2 separate regions of the Homo sapiens genome follow, and region 2 is linked to region 1. Evidence: promoter capture Hi-C in 16 types of primary human blood cells and fetal thymus (Javierre and others, 2016). All regions are on one chromosome and are shown on one strand. The core of a region is centred on a gene start or on the middle of the fragment in contact, and the rest is flanking DNA. Distances in the headings are between cores, read along the strand shown. Region 1 holds the start of GPD2 (glycerol-3-phosphate dehydrogenase 2). Region 2 overlaps PRPF40A (pre-mRNA processing factor 40A).

The links. The method cuts DNA at HindIII sites, captures the fragments that hold promoters and counts their contacts. A CHiCAGO score of 5 or more calls a contact.
Region 2: a fragment that was not itself captured here is called in contact with the fragment with the promoter of GPD2 in region 1 in 1 of 17 cell types (M0 macrophages); the score reaches 7.0 in M0 macrophages.

Annotation. Positions count from the first base shown.
Region 1 is chr2:156,434,617-156,439,446 of GRCh38, forward strand. It overlaps GPD2 (glycerol-3-phosphate dehydrogenase 2), which reads left to right and starts at 1,763. Exons shown (of 17, transcript NM_000408.5): 1 at 1,763-1,897. RefSeq lists silencers at 865-1,034, 1,475-1,884 and an enhancer at 1,275-1,324. The HindIII fragment of the contact is 5,965 bases long and covers 1-4,206 here.
Region 2 is chr2:152,711,921-152,717,069 of GRCh38, forward strand. PRPF40A (pre-mRNA processing factor 40A) reads right to left here. Exons shown (of 26, transcript NM_001365597.4): 2 at 4,075-4,206. Among named protein-coding and RNA genes, the nearest start is that of PRPF40A, 3.0 kb to the right of the region's middle. The HindIII fragment of the contact is 1,151 bases long and covers 3,154-4,304 here.

The DNA.
Region 1 (4,830 bases), core at 513-3,012:
TATTCAAGGTCTCTCTGGGCCTGATAAATTTTGCATACCTCACATTGCTCAAATGCTCTGAACTATTTTTCTTTTCTCAACTACAATTTCCTTTTTCTGGTTGCTCATGATTCAACTGGGGGAGCTTTTAAACCGTGGTTCTCAAACTTTAATGTGCATCAGAACTACCCAAAGGGCTTGTTAAATCTGGGTAGCTCAGCCCCAGCCCCAGAGTCTATGAATCAGGTCACTGGAGTACAGTTTCTGTCAAGTTCTCAGGTGATGCTGATGCTGCGGGCTCCAGTGACTACACTTTTAGAGCCAGTTTTAAAATACAAGGACTTGCAGATCCCACGTCCAGACTGACTCATTGGACTTGGGGATGGAAATCTGGCATTCCACCCCTCCCTGCCCCCTCCCCCCAATTTTAATGTGTCCAAGGGTGAGAATCATTGCTCCTCTGTGGACTATGGATGGTTCCCTGAAGTTACTGAGTTTGGGATTTAATAAATATATGCATTCCTCTGGGTCAACTACAGGAATTCTGCGGTATTTAAGGACATTAAATGAGTGACTTAATACTTTATTTAAAAAAATACCACTGCTTTTTGGTTCACACTAATTTTCTTCCTTCTTTTGGAAAGGCATTTCCGTCCATCTCCTGGATATTTTCCAATACCACGATAGAAAGGTTATTAGTACAGCACCCAGAGGTCTTCGGAGCAAAGCTGTTAAAGAAGTGGGGTCCATTTGAGCCCCAACTTTGCCTTCCTTAGGTCCCCTTGGGCTTGTCTAGCCCTAGGAGTTCCAACAAGTAAGCTGGGCATGCTCAGTGGGCAGGGTCGTTTTTTTTTTTTGGGTGGCGGGGGGTTGCAAGTGGGAAGCCTGCTGTTCAGCTGCCGGGGCTCTCCGCCTCCCCCCACCTGTATGAGGCTGGGTCTGGGGAACCTGTGCTCAGCATTCCACCCCCTGGAGCTTGGGCTTGGTCTTCCCTGCGGGTCCCTGCGCTGACATTCAGGCGGGGAGCCAGGAGGCCTGGCGCGCCTCCAGAGCCCGCCGGGGGAGCCGGGCGAGGGTTCTGGGCTCTGACGGCGGGGTCGCAGGGTCGCCCGCCTCCTGGACACGTCTGTAGGCCTAGGGAAGCCTGCCGGCCGGGAGGTACAGAGTAGGAGAAGCCAGATCCCAGGGCGGACAACGAGAAGTCGTCAGGTAAGCCAGCCCCGCCAGCGTGCCGGCGGACGAGTGTCTCCTCTCCCGCAGGCAGATGGCCAGGGCGGCCCGCATGGGCGAGGGCACAGGAAATCGGACACCGCCACCGTCTTCCCCAGCCTGGCCTAGCTCAGGCTTTCCAGTCCGCCAGCCCGCTGGCAAGGCGGGGCGGAGGTCTGGAGTCCGGCATCGCCGAGGCACAAAGCAGGAACTGCAGCCAGGGGCGAGGGCCCTTGCGTGTGGCGCTGCGCGACCCCACCCGGCGGCAGGACCCGCGTCCCCGTCTAGTCACGTTCATTGGGCCACGGAGACCACCTCGCTCGCCGCCCGCTGTTGGCTTTTCCCTCCCACACCCCCGCCAACCCCGGCCCCGGTTCCCGCCCCCACTTCCGCGTTTCCCCGCTGGGCCGGAGGAGCCTGGGCCCGAGGTATCCGGGCAGGAGGTGGCGGCCTCGCCGCCCTGGTCAGGCCTCCGGGAGGGAGCAGGCGCGGGAGCGGGAGGAGGAAGTCGGGAAGAGGGAAGGCGGGGGCGCGGCCCGCCCGGCGCTCGAGTTACACCCGCCCAGCCCGCCTCGAGTGACAGCCCCGCGCGCCTCGCTGGGAGCACCCGGGCCGAGGCTCTGATTCTGGGGGGAGGCCGACTCCACCCTGGCTGGAGGAACTGGGTGCTCCTGCCCGCTGGCCCCTCGCGCGTGAGGATCTATCTCAGGTGTGTGCTTCCTGGGAGACCCCTTCCCCCGCCTCTAGTATTCTAGGGGGGGAGTGGTCCCTTTCTGACCCGGGCGAGTGTTCTGGGACTCCAGTCTTGGCGGTAGGTGGTGGCGGGAAACGGGAAAGATTTAGAATTTCTTCCCACCAGCAGAAGATGGATTCGCTCTTCTCTAGGGTTTCGTTGTTTATGTTTTGGAGGCGGCATTTGTAAAATAGTAAAGTGGCAGGACTTTTGGGGCGAGGGTTGGTACCCCATTGAAAGTTCATGCAAACTTTTAGCTTGTAGATGCGGCTAGTCTGATAAGGATTGTTGCTCCCTTCCGAAGCAAGAGTGAGAACGAGTCTGGAGGAGGGCTGAGGCTTCTTTGAGAAACTCAGCTGCTGGCGTGTGACCGTCCTAGGAGGAAATGGAAGGTGCACACTGATAACTTAAAACAGCCTCCACTCCCTATGTAGTAACTTCTACCAGCAAAAATAGATTTGCAAAGAGTGCTTTGGCAGGAAGGTGTAGCTGGGTGAATGAAGTGCTGCTCTTAGCAGATGGTCTCTAGTCTGGCTTCCACCTTGTGCAGTGGAATATTCACTCCCAGAAGAGTTCCAGAGTAATTTACAAACACAAATTCTTGCAAAGTGTTAGTGACATGGGCAACCCAAATCACACACAACACATTATAAATATCATAGGAGGCAGCTATAGAAATAGCAGCTAGTCAACTTATACTTGTATAAATAGGTGAGGGAAGGAAGTTAGTAAGTGACAGGGAGTCTTTATTGCTAAAACAAAACTGTTAGTATTTTGCATGTGTTCCAAGTTTAAAGAGATGTGAAGTTTCTTTTTGGCGTGTGGACGGTGCTGGCAGCTGTCACACTGGGCCCAGGCACTTCTTCGTAGCTACTGACCACTCTAGTCCCAGTCCTACAGTTCTTGCTGGCTACCACATGACATCTGGATGCCATTGCCCAATGGAGACCGTGTGCAGTCTGGGGAACCTTGTGATGTGGATGTTGAAACCCCCCTCTGTTTCTCACAGGGGCGTTATGTCAAATTACAACACTCCCTTGACTTTTACAAATCAACTCGTGAAATAATACAGCAATATTTTAATGAATAAATGGGTAAATATGGGGTTTTGGGTTTGAGAACCAACAATGGATTCATTGCAACTGTCCATTCTCATAGCTTATAGAGTCACTTTATTTTATAAAGAAATTCTAAACAGCATTAGAGCTCTGCTTCCTTCTTTCTCCCTTGTGATTCATTCAAAGATGCAATGGCTTGGTTCAGGAATTGACAAAAGGGCCACAGTGTTACCAATTGTTAGTGAGTGTTACCACCCCCTTTAGTTTTTTTTGTAACTATTTAATCTCATTGTAGATATTTTAAAAGATTTGATGATTATTGTGCATAACTCATGTTGGCAAACTATTATAACTCTGAACTTATCCTGTTTGGTTGTTTTCTTTCATCTCTAGCGTGTAAGTTCTATGAGAGTAGCAGGGCTTGTTCTGTCTTGCATACTTTCAAAACTCTAATGCCTGGAGTGGTGACTAGCTTGTAATACACCCTCAATAAATGTTTTCTCAATGAGTGACCTCCAATGCCTAGAGGGGTGACTAGCTTGTAATACACCCTCAATAAATGTTTTCTCAATGAGCGACTGAACTGTGGAACAAACTCCAGCTGAGGGTAGTTGTGGAGCGGGGAGCCAAAGACTTTGGCCTTAGGTCATCTTTTAAAACTCAGCCTCAATTGTCTCATTGGCAAAATATGGATAATAAATGCTATGACGTGTGTAAAATTGCTAGCAATGTACCTGGCAAGTAGTAGACTTCAAAAGACTAGCTTCCATCCTATATTTTTCCTTCTTATACTCAAGTAGGAAAATATGGGCAAAGAATGTAGTTAGCTTGAAAATTTGGGCAAAGAATTCTTGCATGTTGTGCATGAATTATCCGTACATTTTTTTCGGTTAGTTGAGTGTGTTGGGATGGGGAGAGGAGAGGCGAGTTAGTGGTAGCTATGGTTATTAGAGAAGGGAAGCAATTTTCAGATCAGTATCTAATTTCTCAGTTTTAGTTTTTGAATGTGATGATGTTTCTGTTTAGGTTTTCCAAAACTTGATTCTTTCTGTTTGTCAACACCTGGACTCATGGGGCTATCCTAAGTGCAGAAACAACACTTCAGAAAGAGGACTAGAAATCAAATATATGAACACTAGTCTTCTTAAATGAAATTTTCTGTATTCTTGTGCAGCATTATATTGTGTAATAAGTGCTAAATAAAAAAATAGTTAACCTCTTTTGAGAAGCTTACAGTTGTTTAACAAGGTAAAACATAGATGGAAAACAATTGGAGACCAACATAAGACCTCGTACAATCATTTTTCCAGTGGTAGGATGTTGGCCAGAACTGATGTGATTATGAAGGAAAAGGTTAATATTGGCTCAAGTAGTTGGAGACAGCTTCCTGGTGAAGGGAATGCCACTTCAGTAACAGAGAGACTTAACATGTCCTGAAGACTATTGGAAAGATCACCTTTGTTTTAGGAATGTTTGCTATTGTGTACTTCATTGTATGAAAAAGCCAACATAATCTTGTACTTTCAAAAATGATCTTTCTGTTGAAAATTATATGGGAAATCTTCAGTAAAATTCTGCATATGCAAGAAATCAATACTTGTCACTATGTCTGTGAAGTTTAAAGCTCAGGATTGGCGTGAAAATGGTAACTCTTCATTCTTGTCCACCTTTAACACACTTGCTTAAAAATGTGTCAGATAGGCCAGGTGCAGTGGATCACACCTGTAATCCCAGCACTTTGCTTTGGGAGGCCAAGGCAGGCAGATCGCTTGAGCCCAGGAGTTTGAGACCAGCCTGGACAACATGGAAACCCCATCTTTACAAAAAAATACAAAAATTAACCAGGCATGG
Region 2 (5,149 bases), core at 2,479-4,978, 3.7 Mb before region 1:
AGTCATTTTTGAGAAACTTTTGGAGAAGGCAGGACTTGAAATAGTACAACATAGGTAAGCAAAGCAAACTTCATGGTGATACTGAGCTGGGGGCAGGAGGGTAAGAAGAACAGCCTAAGTTTGAAGTTGTGAACTAATATAATCACTCAAGACACCGTGAAAAGACCAGCCTAAGTTCAAATTAGGGAGTGTAAAGACATGCAGCCTTGAATCCTGCTTTGACATGTACTATGGGGAGGTTCTTTAAAGTTAAGCTGTGGAATTTAGATACTATGTTATAGGCACTGAAAGTACTGGAGATTCTTGGGCAAGGAGATAACACATTGAAATCTAAAATTTGTGGGGGCAGGGGGGCATCCTTGAAGCAAGAAAACCAACTCAACTCAAAAACTGTTGAATAACCTAGGCATGGGAGAGTGACGACTTGGGCTCATGTGGTAGCAGGAACTGAAATAAAATAAGATCTATTAGAGCCAGCCTTACTCAATATAGGAGCAAGAAAATCAAACTCATTTGTAAAAAGCAATTATTCATTTATCAGTTTACTGACCAAAGACCAAAAAAAAAAAGCACTGAATAAATAGAATTAGGGAGGCATTACTAAAGGAATTTTCTGTTCTTTCCATATCATCCCATAAAATCTGATATCTACTCTTATCAAATGATCTGAACTGAATCATAGGATGTTAGAGCTGAAAGGGACCTTAACTCAATTACTCTACTCTTCTCACTGATAGAGGAAAATAAAGACTCAAATAGGGAGGAAAAAAAAAGAGCCAGCTAGCATGACTCTGGGGCAAAGGCATAATCATCTGTGATAAAGATGGCAGGACCTGCATGTCCTTTGTGTAGAAAACACAAAAGACATGAAAACAGTATTTACTATGGACACTGAGGAAGAAGACAGCCTCACACATAATTTTATTGATAGAAATCTCTACAGAAAATCTTTATTTTTTTGAGATAGGGTCTCACTTTGTCACCCAGGATGGAGTGCAAGGCGTGATCTTGACTCACTGCAGCCTCGACCTCCCAGGTTCAAGCAATCCTTCTGCCTCAGCCCCCTAAGTAGCTGGGACGACAGACGCACACCACCACACCCAGCTTATTTTTAAATAGTTTTTGTAGAGATGGGGTTTCACCATGTTGCCCAGGCTGGTCTCCAACTCCTGAGCTCAAGCGATGCACCCGCCTCAGCCTCCCAATGGGAAATTTTTGAGTACTGCCATCCAGCAGGGAAAATTCTTTATCTTTCTTTACTAACATTTAACCAGTGATCCTCAAAGCATCTTAAATCACATATTATTTAAAGCTTAAACAACCTGTAAGGTCCCTTTCAGCTATAAGATCCTATAACTCTAAAAGTATGACTTTCCTATAAAGTTATATAGAATAAGAGGCAAATTTAATCTACAAGATAGAAAACTGAAATAAACCTGAAAGAATATTAAGCTCAATTTGATAATCATCAAATATTTATTACTACTAAGAGTCAGCCTAAATGCATGAGATGGCACTCTAGGTCATCTCATGAATTAAGAAAAAAAAAATTTGAACACACCACTTCTTTAAGCTAAATAGCTTGATGCATTTGAGAAATTATGAACCCTGGCTTCCGTACATCATTATGCTACCCAGTCTGCATATTATTTTACAAACAAGTTTTACAGTTTCATGTCATATTGGTAACATTCCAAAGACCACAATTATTTGGCAAGTAAGACTGCCACCAATTTTAGTCTTTAGCTAGTCCCAGCATGAGATGTTCATGCAAACCAGTCAACACATGAAGGTTTTTATAACCTTCAGTCCCAAAGTCTAAAGAATTTGTGAACTGACTTTTTTAAATTGCATGGCAGAACCCTCCCAACTGTCACTACTGTGAATGATACAGACAGACATCCTGCTTCTTCTCAATTATCTTCTGACCACTTATTCCTCCTGAGTACTTCCAAGAGTGGCAGAAGAAATAATGCAGGAAAAAGGATCAATTGTCCTATTTATTATCACCTTTAATTTTTAAAGCAATGTTTACAGAGTTTCAAATATGATTTCTGATTTGAGAATTCAAATTATCCATGCTCTCCCAGTCTGTTATAAAGCTAAAACAAGAATTTGTTTTACCAAGATTTGGGACCCATATTTGTTAGTGAAATATTAAGGGGATAAAAGGGAATTATATAATTCTGACAAAAACAGCGGAGATTCTTTTGGGACTTTCAGGGCATAACTCCTACTAAAACATTTATTTATTATACTAACAGGAGCCTTCAGAGGGAGAAGAATTCTAAACATCTAAATAATTAGGTCTACTTAAAGGCACGTGGCATATATTAGCCTAGGAAAAAGTAGAAGAAAACCACACCAAAAAAATCAGTTATTTGAATGGATGTGTACCGAGTAGCAAGTAAACTTACTAGAAAGATGGTCACTGATACAGCTAAAGAGAAAGGGCCATAAAGCAAACTGTGACCAGCTTATGTCAATGAGATACATGAAAGTACTTTTAAAAAATAAAATCTGCATTTTTTTTTTTAACTAGAACTATGACTAGCTGGTATCTTGGTTTTGGTAGTGCAATAGCACCATTACAGCAAGGGTAAGCAGGTCAATCCCTTGCAAAACTTACCTTGATTGGCCCAATGGAAACAGAAGGCCCCAGAAAAGAGAGAAGCATCTGGCAGTAGCAAATTGTTTTATTTTATCTTTCTGTGGAAAGAAACTAATTTTAAATAAGAACCAGAGCATTTAAAGAATAAATATTTTTAAAGCTCATTATCTAGTTAGAGCAGCTCTACCAAGAAAACAAGAAGAGCTCCTTGCTCCTTAGAGATGGAAAGAAACAGAAGAGGAATCAAAGTTGTTTCTCCATCACCTAGAGAGTTTTAAAATTTGTGTTATTCTAGAGTAACAGAATAAAAGGCTCTTTTATTTAAAGAACTCCTGCAAGCAGAATCTTTTGGGGCTGGTGCCTTTGAATAAAGGTTTTGTTTTGTTTTTTAACAAAATTAAGGGCAATATTCCAAATTAAAAAAAAAAAGAGGAAAATCACTGGACATTAAGCCCTTCTACTCTTAAGGTTAAGTAAAAAGAGACAGACACATAGCAAGCTCCTTTTCCCACTGCAATTTCACCAATAACTTTAACCATGAAAGCTTAAACAATTATCAAACAGTACTAATTAGCAAAAGATCACATGAAATTGGCTTCCAAAATATTTTGTTAGCCTAAATTTTTGATGATTTATGGAAATACTCAAATGGAAATAACCCAGCCACCTAAAGATCTATTATAGAACTTAACATGAAGCACAAAATTACTCATGGTAACTGAACCTGTTACCTTTCTTGGATGCTTCTCTAGAAACTCAGTTCTACCGAAATCACTGAATCAGCATTAAAACCTTTTGATCCAAATCACTCCTACAAAATGTCCATTTACAATTTATGCTAGAGATGGAAGGGACAGCTCATAAGCAGGAGTGTAGAAGCAACAAGCATTAAAAAAAAATAGTATAAGTGGAAAATGAACTACCTATTGGCACTGTCCTATGAAGAATCAGAATTATAGAGCACAAACTCCCCACCCTCCCTCACCCTCCTCCAACACACAAAGAGGAAGATATTTCAGGAATAAAATTCGCTCTAAACCAAAACAATAGCTATTTTCAGATTCTATTTATTTACATGGTCTACCAAAATCAGTTATGTTGCTGTATCAGATAATATTTACTTAGACCATCAACTTCAATTGGCATTCTTGAAAAAATAATCATTAAAAATAAAAGCCTGGATCCACACTTTACTTTTAAATAATAAAGAAAAAAATTCTTAGTTTTGAGGTCATCAGTAAATTTCTCAGAAGACTTTTTCATTATTTAAATTTCTCAGAAGACTTTTCCATTATTCAAATTTCCGTTACAGTCATGATTTAACATTTGGCTTATTTGAAATTATTCGGGCATAAACTAATCATTAAACAGCTATAACTACTGACCTAGATTCTGAAATCTTGATAGAATACCTGAGGCAAAAACAAATAAATAAATGCAAAATAAAACAAAAACAGTCTTACTTGTCCCATTGGTGGCCCTCCCATAGGGGGCATCATCTGCGGCATCATTCCATGAGGTACAGGAGGCATATTCGCTCTCTGACCCATAGGGTGCATTCCCATTGGGGCATAATGCATGCCAGGGTGCCCCATCTGAAAAACAGTGAACATTTTTAAATGAGCAAATAATACTAAATGCTTCTCAAAAATCTCATTTCAACAGATCAGTTATCTGAAGCGACATAATATTAAGCTTATGTGTAATAACATCATTGGATTAGTCTATACCTTGTTTCAAACAAAACGCATTCTGCTAGTATTTAAAACGAGCTTGCAAATTCCGTAAAAAAATGGGAAAAGTTAAGATGAATCCTGGACCGCTGGATCATAGGTTTTCTCTCTCTTTTTTTTAAGCACTGACTTAACCAGCTACTAATTGGCTTGCTAAGCTTGGAGGATACACATTGAATACTAATTTTAAAACTGTTATGGTGAAAACAACAACTCTCCTATTTCATGCAGATATAAAAGATAGCCAGCTATTGTTATTTTATAACACTACTGATTTTAAACTTTAAAATGCTCTATCCAATTAACTCAGGTGAGAGTCGGTCTTACAAAACACAAACAGTATGGCTACCCAGGCACAATTCACTCCTAACAAACTTATTTCCTAACATAACCTTTAAGACAGGTAAAATTCCTTCTGCCAAAAATACATTTTCAAAGACTGAGGTTCTGTCACTCACGGACACTAAATGCAAACAACTAATTCATCCTTTTTAACGCAGTTTAAAAAGACAACTACTTTCTTTACCGATGAGTCCATTGTTCTATGTTTTAAATTAAAACCACCTAATTATCTCCTGCCAATTGTCCCAACAGTTCCCCCTGCAGACCACCCCGACGACTAATGAAAACAAATTTTGGCAGCCGCTGTTAAAGTCTTACAGTATCAAGCCCCTGCCTCCCCCTCCCAGCTAAAATCGGGCCTAAAGCTCCAAGACGCTCACCCCGCCCAAGAGCCAGCACCTTCACCACGCATCTGTCTAGGCCAAGCCCACGGGGAACTTCCAGGGTCTCACATCCTTCTCTT